Linked DNA regions of Homo sapiens: region 2 is linked to region 1. Evidence: promoter capture Hi-C in 16 types of primary human blood cells and fetal thymus (Javierre and others, 2016). All regions are on one chromosome and are shown on one strand. Each heading gives the region's core, a stretch centred on a gene start or on the middle of the fragment in contact. The rest is flanking DNA. Distances are from core to core; before and after follow the strand shown.

What was found. Contacts are between HindIII fragments. The CHiCAGO score rates a contact against its expected background, and 5 or more counts as called.
Region 2: a contact is called between a fragment that was not itself captured here and the fragment with the promoter of DEFB124 in region 1, in 3 of 17 cell types (M0 macrophages, M1 macrophages and M2 macrophages). The highest score is 7.5, in M0 macrophages.

What each region holds. Positions count from the first base shown.
Region 1 is chr20:31,471,490-31,478,260 of GRCh38, forward strand. DEFB124 (defensin beta 124) reads right to left here and starts at 3,638. Exons shown (of 3, transcript NM_001037500.2): 1 at 3,138-3,638; 2 at 1,467-1,549. The coding sequence starts at 1,524. REM1 (RRAD and GEM like GTPase 1) reads left to right here and starts at 3,799. Exons shown (of 5, transcript NM_014012.6): 1 at 3,799-3,877; 2 at 4,738-5,296; 3 at 6,339-6,421. The coding sequence starts at 4,957. RefSeq lists a silencer at 3,691-3,750. The HindIII fragment of the contact is 9,153 bases long and covers 2,834-6,771 here.
Region 2 is chr20:31,607,447-31,614,217 of GRCh38, forward strand. No RefSeq gene overlaps it. Among named protein-coding and RNA genes, the nearest start is that of MIR3193, 3.6 kb to the left of the region's middle. RefSeq lists cis regulatory regions at 956-1,531, 3,077-3,675. The HindIII fragment of the contact is 152 bases long and covers 4,376-4,527 here.

The sequences.
Region 1 (6,771 bases), core at 2,388-4,887:
GGCTGACCCCCCCACCTCCCTCCCGGACGGGGCGGCTGGCCGGGCAGGAGGCTGATCCCCCCACCTCCCTCCCGGACGGGGCGGCTGCCGGGCGGAGACGCTCCTCACTTCCCAGACGGGGTGGCTGCCGGGCAGAGGGGCTCCTCACTTCTCAGACGGGGCAGCTGCCGGGCGGAGGGGCTCCTCACTTCTCAGACGGGGCGGCTGGGCAGAGACGCTCCTCACCTCCCAGACGGGGTCGCAGCCTGGCAGAGGCGCTCCTCACATCCCAGACGGGGCGGCGGGGCAGAGGCGCTCCCCACATCTCAGACGATGGGCGGCCGGGCAGAGACGCTCCTCACTTCCCAGATGGGATGGCTGCCGGGAAGAGGCGCTCCTCACTTCCTAGACGGGATGGCGGCGGGGCAGAGACGCTCCTCACTTTCCAGACTGGGCAGCCAGGCAGAGGGGCTCCTCACGTCCCAGACGATGGGCGGCCAGGCAGAGACGCTCCTCACTTCCCAGACGGGGTGGCGGCCGGGCAGAGGCTGCAATCTCGGCACTTTGGGAGGCCAAGGCAGGCGGCTGGGAGATGGAGGTTGTAGCGAGCTGAGATCACGCCACTGCACTCCAGCCTGGGCACCATTGAGCACTGAGTGAACCAGACTCCGTCTGCAATCCCGGCACCTCGGGAGGCCGAGGCTGGCGGATCACTCGCGGTTAGGAGCTGGAGACCAGCCCGGCCAACACAGCGAAACCCCATCTCCACCAAAAAAGTACGAAAACCAGTCAGGCGTGGTGGCGCGCGCCTGCAATCGCAGGCACTGGGCAGGCTGAGGCAGGAGAATCAGGCGGGGAGGTTGCAGTGAGCCGAGATGGCAGCAGTACAGTCCAGCTTCGGCTCGGCATCAGAGGGAGACAGTGGAAAGAGAGGGAGAGGGAGACCGAGAGGGAGAGGGGAGAGGGGAGAAGGGAGAGGGGAGAGGGGAGAGGGGAGAGGGGAGAGGCAAAAGAAACAAATCTTATCAGAGACCTTCTCTGTCCATCCTCATCAGCCTTCCCATCCCCACCCCCTCCATGCACACACCACTCTAACCCCTTCCCTTGCCTTTCCTCTTCTCAGCACTTATCACCACCCAACATATGTTTATCCACTTATTTTCTATCTCCACCAACTAAAGTGTCAGCTGCATGAAAGCAAGGACCTTCTTTTCTTTCACTGCTACATGTCTTTCACTGTTATTATTTCACAACCATCATAACATAAATGAATATTTATTGAGAGAATCCCATTTTATAGATTAGGAAACTGAGGTACAGGCTGATTTAGCAACTTGCTCTAAGTTGCCCACCAAGTCAGTGGTGGGGCCAGAACTTAAATGCTGATAGAGGCCCCTCTGTCCTCCAGGACCTGAGAGTCTAGTCCTCATTTTTACAAGCACACATGTGCACACACACACACACACACATGCACACGATGTTGTTACCTGATGGCACATGACCCAGAACCAGGAGAGCCACAAGGAACAGAAGCAGCTGTGTCATGGCCACGGGGCTCCTGGGGAGGCTGCTGGAGAGAGCACAAGAGGAAAGACCCGAGCAGGCTGAGCCTCGCTGCTTCCAGCCCAGGCTTTATTGAGCTGCAGATGAAGGCAGTGCTGTGGGCAGCAGGCCTAAGTGGGAGTATGAGGCCATGTGGTCCCCAGGCTGCTTGGGATTTCAGCCAGCTACGTGGGAACTGGTCAGCCACACCCTCCGGAGCCTGTTGAGCTCGGAAGGGGAGGTAGAATTTTCTGAGGCAGTGTCTAGGGTCAGAAACTAGACATCTTCCCCACCTAAGAGAGTGGAAAAAATCTTGGCTTAAGAGAGACCTAGTTCAATCCCCCGCATCTCCCCCTAACTGCTGTGAGACATCAGACAAGTCACTTAACCTCTCTGAGCCTCAGGCTGTTGTCTATGAAATGATGACAAGCATCCCTTACAAGGCCAAGTGAACAGCATGTATGCAGGCCTACTCTAAAATGGGAAGAGTAATAGTACCCATGTCATAGAGAGTAATAGCTACCCATCTCATTTAGGGGACTAAATGAAGTAATACAGTGGCTCCTATACTATGGTTCCCCCAGCAAGCAGCAGCAACACCTGGGACTTGTTAGAAACACCAGTTCTTTAGCCCTACCCCAAACCTACTGAATTCACCTCTTCCTAAGCAGAAGAAGGCCACAGGTCACAGAGCAGCCCATGGGTCACAGGTTAAACCACTGGTTACAAGTTAGACCACAGATTCACTAACACTGGTCACAAGTTAGCTCTCTGGTCATTTGTTAGATCACTAGTCATAGATGAGAGTATGGGTGGGTCCCGGCAAAATGTGGCTTAACAAGCCCTCCAAGTGATTCTAACACACCGCCAAAGTTTGAGAACCCCTGAGATAATATCCGTGCAGAGCTTAGAACAGTGTCTGGTACACAGGAATCTAAGTTGCATCATGAAAGATGAGTAGGGGAAAAGGTATCCCGGGCAGAAAGAATAGAATGTGCCTAGAAGAGTAGGGCATGAGCCAAGCAAGGGTTTTCCTGGGAGGAGAGGTTGAAATGATTCTGCAGAGAATAGGTTGGGGCTTGAATGCCAAGTTCAGACTTTTGTATTATAGACAACCAAAAGTTTTTTAGCAAGAGTGTAAGCTGTTCATATTATAGTTTTAAATAAAGAAACTGAAACCCAAAGAGGGAAGTTGACTTGCCTAAGGTCACACAGCAATTGTGCTGCAGAGATGGAAAAGCCAAGTCACCTCACTCCCAGACAATGAAGGGTGCTGCACCACTCATGGCCCATCTTGCAAGTTAGAAAGGTAAGCTTAGAGGGCCAAGCCACGGAAGGAAGCCAGGCACGAGGGGGTTCTGTATCAGCTCCAAGACCTGTGGGGGCTGAGCCAGTCTGTTCAGCTGCTGTGGGAGTTATTCCAAGCTGAACACCTGAATCCCCTCAGCCATGACAATGAGCCCCACCCACAGGTGCAGCCTGGTCTCCATGGGCTCCACACACAGACACACCCCAATTTCTCAAGACCTAAAGGGAGGCAGCCCAGTCAAAGAGTCTGGATCCTGGCCCCTTGGATGGCCGACGTCACCAGCAATCTCTTTCCTCCTCCTCCATACCTGGGAGCATTTTTTTTTTCAGCCATCAGTAATAGAAACAGTAGACAGAGTGGCAGAGACCTCAGGCCCAGGCCCAGCTAAGCCTCAGTTGGTGAATGAATGAATGATGCCAAAATAAGATTTTCATAATTCTTCAGTGCAGACTTCCTGAGCTCTCTCTTCCTCCAAGCCACCTCCCAAAATTAATTCTTCATCCAGAGCAGAGTTTCTTAAAGTGAGGTCAGTGAACCGCCTGCATCAGGATCACTTGGGGCACTTGTTTAAAACGCAGATTCCCGAACCCCTCCCCCAGCACCGTGGAATCCGCCTCTCTTGGAAGGCGGGACCTGAAAATTTAGCAAGTTCCCCAAGTGGTTTTTCTGGGGGCTAATATGTTAGTGCATCCCCTTGATGGAGTGGACAGATGTGGACGCAGATGGAGCTCCAGACCCAGGAATCCAGAGCCCCCATCCTTCCTTTCTCGTCTGCCACCCTCACCCGGTGCGTAGGGCTGGCAGAAGCGGGTCAGCTGAGCTCTGCACTTTCAGAAAAGTCACTGAGCGGCCAGGGCCTTGGGGCGGGGACCCCGGGGCTGCCCTAATGGGGCGGGGCTGGATGGGGCGGGGTCGCGGCTCCTCCCCCGGCCGAGGCGGCGAGGGGAGGGGAACTGGCCTGAGGGGCTGCTCACTGAGGCGGGTGGTACAGCCTGGAGCATCCAGCCGCTGGAGCTGCGAGGGACCCTGGACCCCTCCCACGCCGAGGTAAAGCCCTGCGCTACGCGCCGCCAACTTGCTCAAGTTGGAGCAGAGTTCGCCAGGCGATTGAAGGGGGATTCGGCAGCGTTGGCAGGAATAGGGGGGCTTCGAAACCGCGTCCCTAGGGTGAGGGTCTTCAGACCTGGGACCCGGAGGGCTGGATAGCCCTGGACAAAGACCCCTCCAACCCCAGGATGGGGGATTCACACCCGGGATGCCGGCTGAGAAAGCTCGGACCCAGACTCCAGGAATGGCACAGCGTTCCCGGGCCCTGTGGTCTGCCCTCCCCGTCCCCTGCCAGGACCCTGTCCTGTCACCTAACCTGGGGCCTGACCGGCGGCAGCTCCCGTCCCCAAAAGCAGTTGGAGGCCGTAGCGCCAGCCGCTCCTGAATTTTTCACACAGGGGGCGGGTCAGACACGCGGTTCCCATGGCACTAGGGCACTCGGGTTACAGTCGGGTTACCCCCATACCCCCCTCGCGCTTCTGGAGTGCCAACCCGCCCTCCTGCCTCTTCCTCCTCAGACCCCGTGAAATTGGGCATCGAAAGTTAAGTAGCCCCTACCCTTGGGGGAGACCTGAAACTGCACTCCCAACCCAGAAGCTGTGAAAGAGAGCGGTGGGGAAGGGGAGGAGGGGGACAATTCAGATGTCTTTCAGAGCCAGGGCCTCATGTTCTGTGGCAAGGGCAGGTCCGTGTACACGGAATGGGGAGTGTGCATGTGAGGACATCCCACCTTACTACTGCCCCTCCACCTGCCTGTCTGTCATCAGGAGTAGATCATCCTTAAGACAAGGGAATGGCCTCTGGGTGTGCATGTCTGTGTGTTCACAGCCTGCACACTCACTCCTTCCATCCGGATCCAGGTTTATGCAGAGCCTGAGGCCAGAAAACCTAGGGACTTTCTGCCCCAAGAAGCTGAGGCACCTCCTACTCCCATCTGAACAAGAGGGGGATCTGGAAGAAGCCATACAGCAGCTCATCAGGACACTATAGAAAGAAGCAGCTCAAAGCAATTGGCTGACAGCCAATTCCCCCTTCTTTCAGAAGGAAAGAAGGAAGAAGCAAACCCCCCCCTACCAAAGATGACACTCAACACCGAGCAGGAAGCAAAGACCCCTCTGCACCGGCGAGCCAGCACCCCACTGCCCCTGTCCCCACGGGGCCACCAGCCTGGCCGCCTGAGCACAGTGCCTTCCACTCAATCCCAGCATCCCCGGCTGGGCCAATCAGCCTCCCTCAACCCTCCCACCCAGAAACCTTCACCTGCCCCAGATGATTGGTCTTCTGAATCCAGCGACTCTGAAGGCTCCTGGGAGGCTCTCTACCGTGTGGTGCTACTTGGAGATCCTGGAGTGGGGAAGACCAGCTTGGCCAGCCTCTTTGCAGGGAAGCAAGAGAGGGACCTCCATGAACAGCTGGGAGGTAGGGGCCATATGGGCTGGGCTGGGATGTGGCCAAAGGAGCGAAAGCCCTGTCACCAGGGACACAGGGCTGCCAAGAACAGTTGTACAAGTCATGCACTGTTCAACTCTAAGGGGCATCATTCACTTAGACTATGACATGCACGATGCCCCCCCGCCCTCCAAAGTTGTACAGGGCACAGCCTGCACAATGGTCAAGGGGAGGGAAATTCTTGAATAGAACAAGAATTTTGCCAACTTCCCATGAATGAGAAGTATATGATTCATTTCCATGTCATGCGGGTGGCAATTCTGAATTCCATGTTAAGAAATGGTGGACTTCCACCAAGGTCAGAAACTCCCCTCCCTGACTCCTCTGACTCTTAGATTCTCCCAGTCCCATAGACACCCATCCATGGTCACCATGATCTACAGCAAAACTAAGATCCTTTGCAGAAGGGAGACTCCGAGACCCCAAGTTCTGGGCCCTGGGTTGCTTTATTCCCAAGAACTGCTGTGAGCTGAGAGTGTCGGGGGCCCCAGGATGATGGGGTACAGGGAAGATAGAAGAGATGAAGGTAGGCCCCTGAAGGACTGGCCAAAAGGACATAGGGTGAGTGGGGGAAGGGGGTTGATTAAATGCAGAGAAAAGGTAGGGACATCTAGCCAGACTCCTCTCTAGTCTTGACTTCTCTCTCCGAGTGAGAACACATATGTGTTACAGATAGGGAGACTGAGGTCAAGAGAGGATAACATGACCTGCCTGAAGCACTCACTAAATCAGAGACAGAGCAGGCCTGGGAGAATTCCTAGCCCAACTTTAACCCCACCACCCCACCTTCATTCAATCAATCAAATCTTTCTGGCACCTACTATGTGCCAGGTACTATGGCAGCTGGGGAGACATGGGCTCCTACCAGGAGAGACAGGCATCAAACAAGTGTGATAAGCGTTTCCGAGGACAAGTGGAGGGGGCGATATGACCAGAAATGGGGGGCAGGGAACACCACACTCTCTCAGGCTTGCCCGTCCTCCCTGAGATCCAGCTCTTCCCTCGGTTGCAGAAGATGTATATGAGAGGACCCTCACGGTGGATGGAGAAGACACCACACTGGTGGTCGTGGACACCTGGGAGGCCGAGAAACTGGTATGGCACTGCAAGCAGAATTTGGGGAGAGGGGTGCTGAGCCTAATACTAGACTCCTTCCTGTCCCCTCCTGGGGACACTACAGATCAGGTGTGAGCAACGGCCATCCTCAGCACCCTCCCCCAAAACCCACAGCTCCTAAGCAGTCTTTCCAATCCCAAACAGAAGACCCTTATGACCCTGACCCCTTTTCTCACTCCACAATCCCCTCCTAGCAGCCATCTCAGAATGTACTTCTCCCCCTGCAGATCTCCCCATCATTATTTCCACCCTCTTCCCACCCCTCCCACCCACATTGTACAGAAGGAACGCTGGATTTGGCCCCAAAATACCTAAGGCTGAACCCCCTT
Region 2 (6,771 bases), core at 3,202-5,701, 140 kb after region 1:
GCAGAAGGGCAAATGAGAGCACATGTGTTCTGCAGATAAGTGTGGAACCTCCAGCTGTTTGGGCTTGTGTGTTCTGCCTAAATGCATTGTAGGCATCTCTGCATGGGTCTGGCATGATGGATGGGTTTGTGTGTCTGGGGGCCACAGAACCACACTGTGGGTTTCTGTGTGTATAACTGTTCTATAGATTGGTTGGCATTCCTGGGCCTCTGCGGGTCTGGAGTGAAGGTGGGGACAGCTGTGTTTGGGCAAACCCTTCCTCAAAAGTTCACGTGGCAACTCCCTGGGCTATCGTTAGGTCCTGGGGGCACCAACCCTCAAGGATTGCTGCCAGGTAAACCCCCCTGTATTACATATGGAGAAACTGAGTCCCAGGAATGACAAAGAACTTGTCCCAGACAGGTAAGGGCTATTAATATATTTTGTCAATAAACAATAGAATAAAATCAATAGCCCTTAGCACCAGAAGCCTGGCTCTGCTCAACTGAACCCTTTACAAAAACGATTTCATGGATCCCTGTGGGGCTAAAGGCAAGACTGTGATCCCAGTTTTACAGCAGAAGGAACAAGCTCAGAGAGGGGATGAACAAAAAATCAAATGAAAGATTATGATTTGAGCACTAACATTAAGCCAGGTACACCCCCTCCACAGTTTATGGATTTTATCGAAGAACCCAGTACTTGCAGGCGAATTATGTTCTTTGCTACCTCCTCCCCACCGGCTGCTGTATTACAGTACTAACCTCACGGAATGTAGTACAGAATAAATGAAATAAAGTAAGTGTGTAAAACGTTTAGCACAGTGCTTGGCACAGAATGTTTCATAGTTATAAATTATTATTGTCGCCTGTGAGTCCTTGGAGTGTCCTCGGAGGCACACGTGTGCACGCACGCACTCTCACGTGTGGGCCCCCGCCTGCAAGCCCACCCACGGGGTCTGAGCGGGTTCCCCCTCGCGTACTCCGACATGCAGGGCCTTTTTCCAGGGGAGGAAGGGGCTGCGGCGGGGGCCTGGGCCACCTCCCCCGCCATTCAGGCACACTCTGGATTCCACGTTTCCCTCTGTTCCCCTTTGGCCCAGACCCAGCCCATCTGGAGGCCGGCTCCGCGGCGGCCTGGGAGCGTTTCCATCAGCTGGGCCCGAGGAATGCGGAGCTATTTAACCTGAGCATCCCCAGGTGTACGGAGGCGCCTGGCTGTCTGGGGCCCGCAGCCTTTGGCACAGCCGCGCTAGACAAACAGCGCGCCGCCCCCGCCCTGCCCCTCCGCCCCCAGCTGCAGCCGGGCCTGGGAACCGGCGGGCGCCGGCGGCTTGCATAAGAGGCTCCGGGCCTCGCAGAGGGAGGGGGGACAGAGGCCACCGGTGTGTGTGCATGTAACACACAAAACCCTGCTCCTTTGGAAATCATTAACTCCTTAACCCCTCCTGGACAGGACGAAGCCAGGAGCTGGGGTGGAAGATGCCGAGAAACCCGAGGACCAAGTTTCTTGGGCACTGGACTCTGCCTTTCCGGGGCTGTACTGTTAATTTTATTTAAGAAATACAGAGAGCTTATTGTGTGCTGGGCACCATGCTAAACTCTTTACAATATCAATTCATTTAATCGTCAGAACTTGTTAACGAGGCCAGTGCTATCATCATATGCTCATTTTAATAAGAGCAACCACCACCACTACAACAAGAGTAATAGGCTAACATTTTAGTAGGGAGGCAGGTAGAACACAAGCCCAGAATCAACCTTGATGCTCATCACTTCACCTGTCAGAGCCTCTTCTTTTTTGGAAAACGGGCTTCAGAACCTGGGCTTCAAGGATTAATTGAACCAATGCACCTAAAAAGCATAGCACAGGCTCATGGTAGATACTTAGTGCATATTGCAATAAAGTGTTTTGAGCGGATTGTCTCAACAGCCCTACCAGGTGTGGGCCTACTGGTATATTCACTTTTTTGGTTTTTTTGAGACAGAGTCTCCCTCTATTGCCCAGGCTGGGGTGCGGTGGCACCATCTTGGCTCACTGCAACCTCCACCTCCCAGGTTCAAGTGATCCTCCTGCCTCAGCCTCCCGAGTAGCTGGGATTACAGGCACGTGCCACCATGCCCAGCTAATTTTTGTATTTTTTTTGTAGAAAAGGGTTTTCACCATGTTGGCCAGGCTAGTCTCGAACTCTTGACCTGAAGGGATCTGCCCACCTCAGCTTCCCGAAGAGCTGGGATTACAGATGTAAGCCACCGTGCCCGGCCTGTGTTCACTTTTCAGATGAGAAAACGGAGGCATCAAAGAGGTGAGGTGACCCACCCAAGGCCACATTGCACATTACCTTAGAGGACTTTCCAGAAATCAGACTTGTCTAAATCAGGTTTATGAGGGGCCTCATGTTCCCACAGTATGTCCAGTTTATAAAGCCTTTCATCTTATTTCCAACTGAAATCATACCTGGTCATTATATTTATTTGTTTTAAAAGCATAACTCAGATAAATGCAAGAAATATACACATATCACAATTTTTGCAACCCATATTGGGGAATGTCTATTTTTTTTTTTAAGACAGTTTTCCTCGTCACCCAGGCTGGAGTGCAATGGGGCGATCTCGACTCAACCGCAACCTCCGCTTCCCAGTTTCAAGCAATTCTTCTGCCTCAGCTTCCCAAGAAGCTGGGATTACAGGCATATGCCAACACGCCCAGCTAATTTTTGTATTTTTAGTAGAGACAGGGTTTCACCATGTTTGCCAGGCTGCTCTCGAACTCCTGACCTCAGGTGATCTACCCTCCTCAGCCTCCCAAAGTGCATGAGGCCACCGTGCCCGGCTCTTTTTTTTTTTTTTTTTTTTTTTTTGAGACAGAGTCTCGCTCTGTCGCCCAGGCTGGAGTGCAGTGGCGTGATCTTGGCTCATTGCAACCTCCGCCTCCCGGGTTCAAGCAATTCTCATGCCTCAGCCTCCTGAGTAGCTGAGATTACAGACGCGCACCACCACATCTGGCTAATTTTTATATATTTAGTAGAGACGGGGTTTCACCATGTTGCCCAGGCTGGCCTCGAACTCCTGACCTCAGGTGATCAGCCCTCCTCAACCTCCCAAAGTGCTGGGATTACAGGCGTGAGCCACCACACCCGACCCATGCCAGTCACTCTTATTGAGCACCAGGAACTGCCAGCCAGAGAGAGCTCCCTGCTGCCCAGTGTCACACACAGCAGGGCTTCCTGGTGGCAGGCAGGTCTCACATCCTAGCATGGCTGCCGGAAAGAAAGGAGGTGAGTCACAGGGCCAGGCCAGGAGCTGGGCGAGGCTGGGGCCAGGGTCCAGGCAGGCGCCACTTTCCAGGAAAGGGAAGGGAAGAGGAAACCAGAAGGCCAGGAGGAGCACAGGGAGGGGCGAGGGTGCCCTTATCTCCCTGGACCTGCCCTGGCTGGTGCTGCTTCCTGCTGCAACTCTTGCAAAACCTCGTTCCCAACGCTGTCCTCAAGCAGGGTGCCCCAGGCCAGTACAGGGTTGCATCAAGGCCTTGTGCAAGGGGGGTTAAAGGGAGGACAGTGGCTGGGAGCAAAGGCAGGGCAAGAGGCAAGGCAAATGCGGGTTCTAGGCCCAGTGCCACTTCTGGTTGGGCACCTGCTTCACCTCCTGGGCTCTTAGGATCCCCAGCATTTTTTTTTTTTTTTTTGAGACGGAGTCTCACTCTGTTGCCAACCTCTGCCTCCTGGGTTCAAGCAATTCTCCTGCCTCAGCCCCTCCAGTAGCTGAGTCTACCGGTGTGCACCACGACGCCCAGCAATTTTTGTATTTTTAGTAGAGACAGGGTTTCTACATGTTGGCCAGGTTGGTCTCGAACTACTGACCTCAGGTGATCCACCTGCCTTGGCCTCCCAAATTGTTGGGATTACAGGTGTGAGCCACTGCACCCTGCCATCCCCAGCATTTTTTTTTTTTTTTTTTTTTTGAGACAGAGTCTCCCTCTCTTGCTAGCCTGGAGTGCAGTGGCAGGAGCTCAGCTCACTGCAACCTGTGTCTCCCAGGTTCAAGTGATTCTCCTGCCTCACCCTCCCAAGTAGCTGGGGTTATAGGCACGTGCCACCACGCCCAGCTAATTTTTGTGTTTTTAGTAGAGACGGGGTTTCACCGTGTTGGCCAGGTTGGTCTTGACCTTCTGACCTCGTGGTCTGCCCGCCTTGGCCTCCCAAAGTGCTGGGATTACAGGTGTGAGCCACCATGTCGCCCAGCCTCATTCCCAGCTTTTAAATGGGTGTTATACTCACCGTTTTGAGGTTTCAGTGATATCATCCCAAACCTTTGCACTCCTCAAGCCTCAGGCTAGGCCATTGTACTTCTACCTGTGAAACTAGCCCCAACTGGTTCTTTCAACAAATAGTTTATAAAGCTTCTACAATATACTAGGAACCGGGCCCCAGGAGTTAACAATTCAGATACAAATTCTTGCAGTCTTGGAACTTACATTCTTAGTGGGAGACACGCAGTAGATAAATATGCAGATGTGTAATCAGAGGTGCATTTACCTGGAAATTACTTAAGCTTAAACTTCAAGCCTCCTCACATGGAAAGAGTATCAGCCATGTGTTAGCATGATTTCTGTGTGTTTTGCAAGATTTGCAAAATGTTGTATTCTTTTCCTTAGAGGCTGCACAAACCTAGATCCTCTTCTTTATATATAGACGAGACCGAGCAGGGCCCAAGCTTGAAGGCATAGCTGCAGAAGACAAAGAATCGTGTCTGTGGGTGCTGTTCGTTGCTTGGGTTTGTTTTGTTATTTTATTAATTTATTTTTATTTATTTATATATTTTTTGAGACAGTTTCCTCCTTGTCACCCAGGCTGGAGTGCAATGGTACCATCTCAACTCACTGCAACCCCCGCCTCCTGGGTTCAAGCGATTTTCCTGCCTCAGCCTCCCAAGTAGCTGGGGTTACAGGTGCCTGCCACCACGCCCAGCTAATTTTTTTTTTTTTTTTAATTGTGAGACAAAGTCTCGTTCTGTCACCAGGCTAGAGTGCAGTGGCGCAATCTCGACTCATTGCAACCTCTGCCTTCTGGGTTCAAGCGATTCTTCTGCCTCAGCCTCCCGAGTAGCTGGGACTATGGCGTGCACCACCACGTCCAGCTAATTTTTTGTATTTTTAGTAGAGACGGGATTTCATCATGTTGGCCAGGATGGTCTCCAACGCCTGACCTCAGGTGATCCATCCGCCTCGGCCTCCCAAAGTGCTGAGATTACAGGCGTGAACCACCGGGCCCGGCCTGTTGTTGTTTTAATAGAGACGGGGTCTTGCATGGTTGCCCAGGCTGGCCTCAAAATCCTGGGCTCAAGCAATCCTCCCGCCTCTGCCTCCCAAAGCACTGGGATTACAGGCGTGAGCCACCCTGTCCGGCCCGGTTTTTGGGTTTGAGACCCTAAAATCTCTGGGCGGCAGAGAAGAGCTGGGAAGCGGGCCAGCGCTTTCCAGAGCACCTGGTCTCATGCAGCTGCAAACGCAGGCGCTGTGCCCGCCCCCGTCTTCCTTTGGCCACCAGCGCCCCCTCCCGGGCAGAGCCCGGGCTATGCCACCGTGGGCGAGAAAGGCGGCCTGGTTGCGGCGAGAGGCGGAGGCTGATGCCTTGGTGGCCTCTAGTGGACGCCTTGGGAACTGCAGTCAGAGCTGCAAGCGTGTTAGGAGAGTGAAGAGTTCTGCGCACATGTAAACCCTCAGCCCCTTCTCTCAGGCCCCCTTTGGCTACCGTTTCCCCCATTCTCTCATCCTCTTTCCTCTTCCTTGCTTGTGACAACCCCCTATGAGCCTCATTCCCTCCCTTTTTTTTTTTTTTTTTCTGAGATGGAGTCTCGCTCTGTCGCCCAGGCTGGAGTGCAGTGGCACGATCTCGGCTCACTGCAACCTTCGCCTCCAGGGTTCACGCCATTCTCCTGCCTCGGCCTCCGGAGTAGCTGGGACTACAGGCGCCCGCCACCACGCCCAGCTAATTTTTTGTATTTTTAGTAGAGAGGGGGTTTCACCGTGTTAGCCAGAATGGTCTCGATCTCCTGACCTCGTGATGCGCCCGCCTCAGCCTCCCAAAGTGCTGGGATTACAGGCGTGAGCCAGCGTGCCCGGCATTCCTTCCCTTTTAAAGGAGGAGATCTTGGGCTAATCTTGGAAATTTCTTTTCTTTTTCTTTTTCTTTTCTTTCTTCTTTCTTTTCTTTTCTTTTTTTTTTTCTTTGAGACGGAGTCTGGCTCTGTCGCCCAGGCTGGAGTGCAGTGGCTCGATCTCGGCTCACTGCAAGCTCCGCCTCCCGGGTTCACGCCATTCTCCTGACTCAGCCTCCCCAATAGCTGGGACTACAGGCGCCCGCCACCGCACCCGGCTAATTTTTTTGTATTTTTAGTAGAGACGGGGTTTCACCGTGGTCTCGATCTCCTGACCTCGTGATCCGCTTGCCTCGGCCTCCCAAAATGCTGGGATTACAGGCGTGAGCCACCGCTCCCGGCTTTTTTTTTTTTTTTTTTTTTTTTGTAGCCCAGGCTGGAGTGCAGTGGCGCGATCTTGGCTCATTGCAAACTCATCTCCTGGGTTCAAGCGATTCTCCTGCCTCAGCCTCCCGAGTAGCTAGGATTACAGGCGCCAGCCACCACGCCTGGCTAATTTTGTATTTTTGGTAGAGACGGGTTTCTCCATGTTGATCAGGCTGGTCTCGAACTTCCGACCTCAGGTGATAAGCCTGCCTCAGCCTCTCAAAGTGCTGGGATTACAGGCGTGAGCCACGGCGCTCAAGCTAATTTTGTT